4 separate regions of the Homo sapiens genome follow, and regions 1, 2 and 4 are each linked to region 3. The links are contacts of gene promoters, found by promoter capture Hi-C in blood cells and fetal thymus (Javierre and others, 2016). All regions are on one chromosome and are shown on one strand. The core of a region is centred on a gene start or on the middle of the fragment in contact, and the rest is flanking DNA. Distances in the headings are between cores, read along the strand shown.

Region 1 (2,700 bases), core at 192-2,691, 370 kb after region 3:
ACAGACTCTCAACAGAACAAGTGCCAGAAGGGAGAAAGAGGAAGGCACTCACTTACAGGGCATCTGTTAAACGGCAGATGCTGGGTTACCAGTCTCTTAATTTTATCCTCCCAATTCTTTGAAATGGGTATTTCCTCCGTAGCAAGCAAACACAACTAGCTCAAAAAGGAAATAACAATAATAGTCCACATTTATTGAATGCTTAGCACATGCCATGCCCTGGGTATGCCATAAGTATCCATTATTTTATAATGCTAAGGATAGTGCTATTACCCTTCCCATTTTTACAAATGAAGGAACTAAAATTCAAAATTCTATATGACTTCCCCAAGGTCCTAAAAATAGTAAGTGGCAGAGTTGTGAGGTAGCCCCATCTCTGTCACTCTAAGGGGGCTGGTCTTCAGAGCAGACTTTGACTCAGGGGCATTCAAGTCTTACAGGAATCACGTCGCTTCCTCCACTGATCCCTCCCGCTACCTGTAGGCCTGCTGGCCCTGCCCATGACCCAAAAATAACCAAGTTGTTCCCTAGAATGGTTTGTTATTTTCATATTGGGAATGAGAAACAAAGAGGATGTCTTGAGGGAGAAGGACAGGGTGTCTCATTCATGGGACACACTCTGCCTTTTACCTGGTATTTTTATACCAATCGCCTCTTCAGATTACCACAACAATTCTTCAGATCAGTAGAACAGGTATTCCCAGCCACATTTTACAGATAAGGAAGCTGAGGCCTCAAGAGCTTTGATGACGTGAGCAGATATCCAGCTGGGGTCAAAGCCACATCTTAGTCTAGGTGTGTCTGACTTGTGGCCCAAGATCTCTGGTTACTCTGGGCTGGCAGGGGGGCTCGTTGCTGGGGGTGTACAATGGGAACCCAGCATCCAGCCTTCTCCTCCCTCCCTATCTCCTCCTCCAGGCCATCAGCCACTGTTCAGCCTTCTGTCCAACTCTCCCATGGCTCAGAAGCCCAGAGGTGCTGAGGGCCTTGGAGCCAGCCAACCAGCCCAGCCCTTTTAATGAGGAAGCTTCTCTGCTCCCTCCAATCCATAACATAACCCTGAGGTCTAACCTCTGTATATATCACTCACCTATGTGGGACCAGGGAGGAAAAACATGGAGACCGTGATTTGCTCTGGACTGGGAGGGGTTACCTTCTGCCTTGGAGGGAAGCACCTGGCACCCCCCATGAGTGGATTTAGAAGGGAAGCCTCTCTGCAGTAAGCAATGCCCACACTTGCTGTGCCTGCCTAGAGGTGGAGCTGTCCAGCCCTGCCTCACTGCAGACCCTTTTGTTGGGTTCAAGGTTCAATCCTGCTCATTGAGCAAAAGGTCAATCCTTAAAAGAAAAAGTGTTCTTTGTGCTCATTCTCAGACTATATTACTCCTGATCGAGGAGAAGTTTAGGGGCAAGAAGAGCCCAGAAGCTGGAACTGTCCCCACTTGCTGAGTGGAGCAACTGTAGACCAGAGCTGTGAGAAGTGCTGTGCTGCTTTCTTCCCTGGGTGCATATACCCTCCCTCCACACTTCCCTAGTGCAATCAGTCCCCTTGAAGACAGGAGAGGCAGTGAGGCTTAGTGGAAAGAGCACCAGCAAGGGCCTCCGAGAGGGCGCAGACCTGTAGCCTAGGACCGAGGATGGATATTTGCAGGAATTTGATTCTTTACTGAGCAGGGAGCAAGTATTCTAGGCTAGGGGGCAATGGAGTGCAAGAGCTTGGTGAGAGAGGACTGCATTCCACCCGATGCACTCTTTGCCAGGTGCACACAGCAGGTACAAGGGACCTGGTTCCCTTTAAGTCTTTTTTGAGAAAAAAGGCAAACCTTAAACCCTGAGGACCCAAGAGTCAAGCTTCATTTCCCCTGCAAAGCTCCCCGCAAGCCTCTCCAGCCCAAGTGGCGCCTCCACTCAAATCTACAGAGACTTGTTCCGAGTCCATTAGCTGCTACACCTTGATCAGGTCCAGAAGGGTCCCAGGCACCACGAGAGAGGGTAGATGTTAGCCTGGGGGGCTGAAAACTATGGTATTGTGATGAGCACAGGCTCCTGGCTCTCACTGGCCAGCGGTACAATACAGGGAACAATGGCACCTTCCACATTCAATTATTGTGAAGACTGCATGAATGCATGGAAAGTGCATGTCATAGGGTCCGGCACAAAGTAGATGCTCAGCTGTTAGCTCTTGCTGCTCTCACTGTTCAGGGAAAGTAGAGTAGGGTCTGATTCCACCTTACTCAGAGCCTTCGGTACCGGTGAACAGAGCAATACAGACAACACACCCAGTCTGCATGTAAATTGGCCTTCGACACTGGATCACCCCAGAAAAAGAGAACGTGTTCCCTTCCAACTGGAGCTTTGGAGGAAGCTAAGCCAGATTACCACACCTGACCCCCAGAGCAGGAGGGAAGGATGCCCCAGTGCACTCAGGTCTCATTCATGTGGACTACGCTGTACTTTCTGAAGAGGTGGAAGGAGGTAAGAAATACTGTATGAAGAGGGACATTGCAGTGGGAACATGACTAAACCATGTGAACAAAATCTCTGTTACTTATGCTCTTCCTGTTCTTTTCATGTCTACACTGTAGATACGTTGCCAGTACCTGTGGTTCTGCCTAAATAAACATACTTGCTGGTACAAAAACATACACTGATGGATGATGGAAAAGGAAGACAAGACAGTGTTTTTCTTAGACCCTTTTC
Region 2 (2,700 bases), core at 146-2,645, 490 kb after region 3:
ATTGAAACTGTCCCAGGGTCAGAGTTGTAAGGGTGGCATTACACTTGATCTCTTCAACTTCCTGGAAACTTGGGAAGCAAGGTGTTGGGACATCCAGGGCAGGGAGGAAATGGTACCAAGGATTTGATCAACAAATGTTTACTGAGCACCTGTTATATGCCAAGCACTAGTCTAGACACGTGGGATTCATCAGGAAACGAAAGAGAAAACCATCCTTGCCCTGGTGGAGCTTGCATTCTGGCAGAGAGAAGGCGGTCGATAAGTGATGCACGGATTAAACCATAAATTGCATTGCTGTACAGGATGTGAGGTGGTAATAAATGCTACGGAAAGGAAAAAGTAGAGCAGGATGGGGGGATCAGAAGTGGGAGGAGGGGATGTTGGCATCAGATTAATTATTAAGAGGGGCATTTTTCCCAGTCTCCCTCCTCATTTCCCTCTTCTTCCTGGCCCGTTCTAATATTAACTCTGCTGTCTTGTGGCTCCCGTTAGAAATAAAGCTTCCTAAATCAACATGAATTATTTAAGAGGGAGACTAAGTCAATTCAAATAAAGAGGGCATCTTTTTAAATGATGTCAAGCCCCAAATACTGAGAGAGGAAAACAGATAAGGTCCAATCTGTGACGTGTCCTTAACTAGTTTGTTTTTCAAAACCACAAGCTCCCTTTGCCACAGCTCTACCAGCAGAGCTGCAGGGCCTCCTCAGCCCACCGCGTTGGCAGCCTCCCCCAATCTCCCATCCATGAATCTTCTGGGGAGATGGGTCCAGAGAACAGTGGTGAATAACTCAGAGTCTGCCAGCAAAGGAAGGCAGAGCTGGAACAGACCTCGAGGGTGCTGGCTTCTAAACCATTCTTCCAGAAACTGGTTGCAAGAAACCCATCCATAGTCACCCTGACATAAAAAGGCAAATCAGTAGGTGACAGTCTGAGGGGTTCTTCAGGGGCGAGAAAGTGTCCCCACAGAACAAAACCCAAGCTCCCTGCCAGGCCACACAAGGCCCCCCGAGGCCAGCCCCCAGCTGTGTCCCCAGCCTCAGACCCACCGCCAACCTGCTCCCGCACTAACAAGCAGCTGGCATCTCCTTCCGCTCACCAAGCCTCTGGGCCCTCATTCACACTGTGTTTCTTCCTGGAGTGCCCTTCCTACCTTTCTTCCCTTGGCTAACTTGTGTTCAGCTGTCAAGATTCACCTCAGACAACTCCTCCTCCAGGAAGCCTTCTCTGGAGCCCACATGGCCTGACTGTCCCCCTGTGGTCCTTTTCACTTCCTTAGGCATCTTTTTTTTGAGTCAGGGTCTTGCTCTGTCATCCAGACTGAAGTGCAGTGGCACTATTATGGCTCACTGCAGCCTCGACCTCCCTGGCTCAAGCGATCCTCCCACCTCAGCCTCCCGAGTAGCTGAGACCACAGGCATGCACCACCTCACCCAGCTAATTTTTGTTTGTTTGTTTTTTTGTTTTGTTCTGTTTTGTTTTTGTAGAGACCGGGTTTTGCCATGTTGCTAATGCTTGTCTTGAACTTCTGGGCTCAAGGGATCCACCCAACTCAGCCTCCTAAAATGCTGAGATTACAGGCGTGAGCCATCGCGCCCAGCCTCCTTATGCACCTTGATTACAGGTCTCGACACGCTATGTTGAGAGTAACTGTTTTCATGTCTGTTTCCCCCACCGGGTCTCCTGGGAGCATCTTTCATCCTTCATGCCTAGCACAGCCTAGAATCACATACTGGGTGTTCAGTAAATGTTCCTCATGGCAATTGAAATAACAAGGCTTAGGGAAAATTTAGGGGGAGTTTACACTGAATCTGACGACAGAGAACAGAGTCTGGCAGATAGTAAGCCCCAAACACGGATGACAATTGTGTTTTGTTGTGTTGTGTTGTGTTGTGTTGTGTTGTGTTGTGTTGTGTTGTGTTGTGTTGGAGAGGCAATGTGGCTAAGCGCCTGGCCTCTGGAAGCCAGATTGCCCGCACTTGAAACCTAGCTGTATCATTTTGCCACTGGTGTGACCGTGAGCAAGTTATTTAACCACTCTGTGCCTGTTTCTTTCTGTGTAAAATGAGGGAAATAATCATAACTGCTTTCATGGGGTTGAAGAGAGGATTTAATGAAATAATATATGTAAAACATGTCTCAGAATAGCGCCTGTTATGCAGCAAGGCATAGCAGCATTGGCTGCTAGTATTATAACTGTTTTCATCATTGCTATTATTGCACAATGTTATGAGACACCAACAAGCAACCCCTGCATCCCGGGGGATCAGACTTTGCTTCCTAGAGAAGCTTTCCCATGTATCAAGCAAGGCAGGAAGATATGATTCCTGCAGGCCCCTCCCAGCAGGCTGCACACCTGGGAAGAAAGGCAGAATTGATTTCCTTATCTGCTTATTAAGCGTGTTTTGCCTGGGCCCTGGCCTGGTCTTAGTGCCGTATCTCATTTGTGCTATGTGGCTGTTTCCTGCAACATTCATTACCCTGCAATCACCCCCAAATAGCGGTAGCAAACGAGCCAGAGACGGAAGACAGGAGCAGAAAACATCCTTATCTCCTGAGGTTCCACATGGGAGCTGTGTCGGAGCTATTGTACATCTCGCTCCCCCTACACACACCCCACCCCTGCCACCAGCTCGCTCCCAGCTCCCTTCCTGGTAGCCCAGACTACCCCCATGTCCCCTGGGCCAGAAGCAGATTCCCCTC
Region 3 (2,700 bases), core at 46-2,545:
CCTCAAAAGATGTGCTACTACTGAAAGAGGAAAGGCTAAGAGTTTCCCAAAAGACCTCCCCAAGGTCCAGGGACTGAAGACAGTAATGACTGATTTTAGAATTGAATGCTAAATGGCACATGTCAGGGGAGCGTCTTTCATTTTCCTCTCCTCTCTCTTTACCTCTCCTTCTCACAGTGCATAACGTTGAATATTTTTCTGTGTTGTTTTGTTATGTCCTTAGAGTTTGCATCTTGTGTGTGTACTCTGCTTGCACACTAGATTATGAGCTTCTGAAGGCATGGTCTGTGCCTATTATTTTGCTTCCCTCCATGGCCTGCTTATACCAAGCATGCCTAAATGTCTATTAAGTAAATAGACCCAGATAAATTCATGTTGATATCCTGGAGGAAACCGAGTTTGATTTGAGTGTGGAGTGTGAATTTCATGACAGGTAAAAGGCTTGAAGATCCTTAGGACGCAGTTGTCTATGACCTTGGCCTCTCCTTTGCAATTGGACTCACAGCACCTCTTGGAGAAAAGACAGGCTCAGAGTGATGGAGCGCTCATTAGAGGAGAGGCTCTGAATGCAAAGACAGGCTGCTCCCCTGTCCTCGTTAGGAAATGCACAAACCAGGATAATGATAATAAATGGGTGTGTGTCACAAGCCTACTTGCCTTCCCTTTAGTTCCTGCATTTTGTCTTCCAGGAGCAGTGCAAAGCAAACTAAGATCCAAATGTTCAGGTTTTATTACCTACCCCCCCCCCCCACCACAACCACCCACCCACCCACAGGAAACTCTCAGAAATGCAAAGCATGCTTATCTCTTCTCCAACTCCGAGCCTCCCGCTGCACACATTGGCCAAGTCCTTCCGAGGGAAAGATGCGCACCCCCCCTTCCTAGTTCCCTTTCAGCCCAGTTTCCAGTTCCTTTGCAAAGGCAGGGCGTGCATGTTTTTGTGCACATGCATGTGGATAGTCATCCTTAACTTCACTGTTAAACAGGACATCGTGTGGACAAAAAGTCACAGCTCCACTCCAAGCTCAAGATGCCTTTTGGTCAATAATGGTGACAAAAGCTGAATTTTTCCCTATTTAGGGAAAAGAAAGAACACAGCCTTTTCCCCCACTGTCCGTTTTGCATAGATCTCCTTTTTCCGAGTGTTTCCTCTTTAATTATGACCTGTCTCCCCTCCCTCTCCCCTCGCCTCAGCTTCAGTGAAAGGAGTCCTTCTGTCACTCGTCACTAGCTCGCTCGCTCACTGTGGGAGGAGCCCGCCTGAGGAAGCCGTGTGCCTGGGATGCCAAGAGCCAGAGAATGGATCTTCTCCGAGTGGGGACATTGCTGACAATCCCGGCTTCCCGAGGCGGCTAAGAACAGGCAGTTTGTGTCGGCTGGCTGCAGATACCCAGAGGCACAAAGAGACCGAAGCCACCCGGAGGGACCCACGGACGGACAGATGGTAGGCGCGAACCCGAGAGGACCGGCGGAGGCTGAGCACCGAGAGCCGCCAAGGAAGAGAAACTAACCACAGCCAAGTTACCCCGCCGGCTTTCCTTCGCTGCGCTAAGGAATGAAACCCTTCCAGCTCGATCTGCTCTTCGTCTGCTTCTTCCTCTTCAGTCAAGGTAGGACCCCTGCGCTGCTGGAGTTGGAAGAAAGTCGGCTGGGTTGTCAGGGCGCGGGAGGCTGTGGGCAGGAACGTGGGCAGGCTTCGGGAACTCGGACTGATGGATGCGTCTCTCGGTGCCGGGCTGAGATGCTCTGGCATTGCCTCTTCGCCTTTGCGAATGCAACAAAATGGTACTGTTTATTTTCCTTTGGAAAGAAGGGGTATGGGAGGGGAGGGGAATGACTTTCTCCTCTCACTTGTCAATATCCAGCTCAAACTCTCCAATGCAAATGAGTTCTTTATGCTTCTGGTATGTTAATTAGGTAGTATCTCTGTGGTTATGCCGCTCTGAACTTCTGGGCACCTCCTCTCCTTCAGACCCAGGCCAGGGAAGGAGACGGCAGGGAGGGAGAGCTTGGTTTAGGTGGATATTTCAGCTTGAATAGGGTTTGACTTGCACAAGTGTATTCAAAAGCGAATGTGTGTGGTTTGCACCGTTGAAAAGGGGGTTGCAATTACAGAATGTATTGTGGGGGGTAATTTGCAGTGGTTGGGAAAAGCTTGTAAAGAGTTTCATTGAACGTCATCGAGTTCCCTAAATTAGGTTGAATTCTGAATCCTACACAGCACTGAATTCAGGGTATAAAATGAAATTTCGCCCGTGGTGCTGATGGTTTCCTTTCTGCAGCCTAGCAGGGGCAGAGAAGCAGGTGGACTCTCCGGAAAGAACTTTGCCACCTCTAGGCTCCTTGCCACTGGGAGCCCTGGGGCTGGTAGTGGTGCAGAAAGGAGAGGGAAATTCGGGAGAGGGAATGTGAGTGCCTAGTTGGCCAAAGGCATCAAAAGTCACCTGTGGAATTGAGTTTGGAGGGGCAAGTACATGGGCTCCTTCCCGCTCTTTTGGAATGCCAATGCACCTCTGCCATCTGAGGCTGCATTTGTGCCAGCCAACACAGCTCTTAGAGGTGCAAGACTCAGAAAAAATCCACAACAGAGCACGTCCATCTGTTGATTAAATGAAGGGTAAAAGTTTTCGAGAAAGCAAAGCACTGCCATGGGTGGCTGGCTTTGCAAGCAAACAGCATGTCTTCTGTTTCTCCCCTGTC
Region 4 (2,700 bases), core at 157-2,656, 270 kb after region 3:
TTTGAGTCCCAAACAAGACACTTAAGCATTATTCTTTAACTTCAGTCCAGCCTCTTGCTATCTCCTTTGCTTGGTTTTCTGGTAAGATAAGGGGTTCCCCCTGGCCTTTTCCACTCTGCAGTGCTCTGGGGTTAGATCCCAAATTCTCCTTGGAGTCTCCTTGGGCATAAGCTTCCTCTCAGCATTACGAGGTTACCTTCCTCAAAGTGTCTTTTCTCCATGTTTTCTCAGATGGCCACCAACCCAGAGATGGTGTCCTGGTTCAGAGCCAGGCTGCCCAAGTCAACTCCAGAGAGCAGGAATTCAAAGGAAACAGTCACTCTCTCACTGTCTCTCTGCAGCTGACTACACTTTCCCGAGACAAGCAGGTATATTGGATTGGCTGTTGTTATGAGCTGTTTAGTCCTAACTTGCTTAGTAGAAAACGTCATCTAGTCCAGTTGACCAGAGAGCGCTAGGGTTTTGATCACAAGTCCAGCTAACAATGAAGCATTGCTTTGCTTTCCTTTCTTTGTGTGCTTACTATATTTTCTCAGGGGTCCTCATGAGAAGGGGTGGCTATTTCAAGGACAGAATCTGGCCATTCCTGCATCCTCGGGCTCAATACAATAATTCATCAAATGATGTATACATTTGTATTATAAACTGCGGAATCATTATGAAATCACTGTATTGTTAATAATAGTTTCCTATTAATTACTCTATCGCTCTAGCCATTACTTATAAACCTCCTTCCTAAATCTCTGGCTCAGATTGCCATTCCTGTAGGAATCCTTAGTCTCCAAATGGAGCAGATTGTAAAGACCCCAGGCAGGGCAGCAAGGAGGTGAGATTAATGAGACACCCCTCCCCCATTCCTGGCACTCGCTGGAAACCAGCAGAGAAGCCAGTGAGGTCCCACCCTTCCTGCAGTGATTTCCTTCACCCTCTGGCAGTGACTTCTCTCTCTCTTTGCTGCTGGGGGCACAGTCCTCAGCTGCTTCCTCAAAGAGCTGCCTGCATCAAAGTAGCTACTATTTCCAGCGTCTTTCTTTTACAATCCTTTTTGTTCCTTGCTTTTGATCCAGCATATGCTGGGGGGCCAAGCTTTTGTCTTTCAGCTTGTGAATAAATGGAAGCACTTACGGAGGCAGCAGCCACCACATGTGATTAGTTTCTTGTTGTTCTCTAACTGGGAGCCAGATGGATCAAGTAGCTCAGGACCTAAAACTGACCTACTTAGAGCCATCAGGTCTGATGAGGTGAGCATAGCTTGGGAGTCCAAAGACCTGAATGCCAGTCCTAGTCCTTCCAGCAACGAGGTGTGCAAATTTTGGCAAAGCTTTCTTCCTGTGTGCATTCACTCACCAGACATGGCGCTAGGCATTGGGTCTGTAAAGATAAATAAAATCACATCTGTGACCTCAAGAAGACTGCAGAAAGAGAAATGTGAAAGGTAGACATGAGAATACGTACAAGCTGTGGTAGAAGCATAGCCAAGAGAAAGCTTTGTCCAGGAAATGGTATTCGGGCTGAGTCTTGAAGGACTAAGTAAGCTCTGACCCAATGCAAACAGTGGACACAGCGGGATGGACCCTGGGATAGGGTCATTTGAGACCTAGGCAGTGGCCCAGAGGTATGGAAGAACATGATTTACTCAGAGAACGGCAGATTATCTAGTACTGCTGGGGCATGGACTAACAGGAGAAATGGAAGGTGGGTCTGGAGAGTTGGGCAGGGCCAGATCATAGGGAGCTTTGTAAACTATGCTGAGAAGTTAGGAAATGGAGACATGCAGACAGATTCATTTGTAAGCTAAGCATTCTCGCAGGAGGCAGCAAAGAGAGTGGCTTGAAGGGGAACCTGATTGTCAGAGACACCAGTTAGAAAAGTATTGCATGTTGGCTGGGCGCGGTGGCTCACGCCTGTAATCCCAGCACTTTGGGAGGCCGAGACGGGTGGATCACGAGGTCAGGAGATGGAGACCATCCTGCCTAACACAGTGAAACCCCATCTCTACTAAAAATATAAAAAAATTAGCCAGGCGTGGTGGCAGGTGCCTGTAGTCCCAGCTACTCGGGAGGCTGAGGCAGGAGAATGGCGTGAACCTGGGAGGCGGAGGTTGCAGTGAGCCGAGATGGCACCACTGCACTCCAGCCTGGGTGACAGAGCAAGACTCAATCTCAAAAACAAAAAAAAAGAAAAAGAAAAGTATTGCATGTTGTAAGCCAGGTTTTCTTTACCTGGGGACTACCGCCATTTTGGTTCTTGGTTGCAGGGGCCGCCTGGTGCATTGTATCGTGTTCAGCTCCATCCCTGGCCTCTACCCACTTGATGCTAGTAGCAACCACTTCGTTGTGACCATCAGAAATTGTCCCTGGACGTTGCCAAATGTCCCCTAGGTGGGGAAGACAAAAATCACCCATGGTGGAGAACCACCAGTCTAAGCAAACTTATGTAGTATGGAATAAGCTCAGAGCTGCGAGAATGGGCACAGGTTGAAGATACCTGTAGGAGTCAGGTTGAGAGGAAGGCATGATTGACCAGACGTATAGGGTGAGGAGAGGGTGGAGGCCAGGATTGTTCCCTGATTTCTGGTGGACAATTAGGGGATGTTGATGGTGCAGAGATGATGAGAAGAGGGAGGAGAAGGTGAGTAACTCATTTGGACGTGTCACACTCAAGGGGCCTGTGGGCCCCCATGTGGATGGGGCTAGTCGG

The links. Contacts are between HindIII fragments. The CHiCAGO score rates a contact against its expected background, and 5 or more counts as called.
Region 1: a contact is called between a fragment that was not itself captured here and the fragment with the promoter of KIRREL3 in region 3, in 1 of 17 cell types (fetal thymus). The highest score is 5.3, in fetal thymus.
Region 2: a fragment that was not itself captured here is called in contact with the fragment with the promoter of KIRREL3 in region 3 in 4 of 17 cell types (fetal thymus, monocytes, endothelial precursors and 1 more); the score reaches 6.3 in fetal thymus.
Region 4: a contact is called between a fragment that was not itself captured here and the fragment with the promoter of KIRREL3 in region 3, in 3 of 17 cell types (megakaryocytes, fetal thymus and M1 macrophages). The highest score is 7.5, in megakaryocytes.

Annotation. Positions count from the first base shown.
Region 1 is chr11:126,633,739-126,636,438 of GRCh38, reverse strand. The region is part of intron 1 of KIRREL3 (kirre like nephrin family adhesion molecule 3); the gene reads left to right. Among named protein-coding and RNA genes, the nearest start is that of KIRREL3-AS4, 18 kb to the left of the region's middle. The HindIII fragment of the contact is 824 bases long and covers 1,030-1,853 here.
Region 2 is chr11:126,514,039-126,516,738 of GRCh38, reverse strand. All of the region lies in intron 4 of KIRREL3 (kirre like nephrin family adhesion molecule 3), which reads left to right. Among named protein-coding and RNA genes, the nearest start is that of KIRREL3-AS1, 28 kb to the left of the region's middle. The HindIII fragment of the contact is 1,786 bases long and covers 503-2,288 here.
Region 3 is chr11:126,999,365-127,002,064 of GRCh38, reverse strand. KIRREL3 (kirre like nephrin family adhesion molecule 3) reads left to right here and starts at 1,295. Exons shown (of 17, transcript NM_032531.4): 1 at 1,295-1,610. The coding sequence starts at 1,556. The HindIII fragment of the contact is 3,223 bases long and covers 1-2,156 here.
Region 4 is chr11:126,730,221-126,732,920 of GRCh38, reverse strand. All of the region lies in intron 1 of KIRREL3 (kirre like nephrin family adhesion molecule 3), which reads left to right. LOC105369561 (a long non-coding RNA gene) reads right to left here. Exons shown (of 3, transcript XR_007062941.1): 3 at 2,305-2,377. Among named protein-coding and RNA genes, the nearest start is that of KIRREL3-AS4, 79 kb to the right of the region's middle. RefSeq lists enhancers at 18-67, 811-1,346. The HindIII fragment of the contact is 165 bases long and covers 1,324-1,488 here.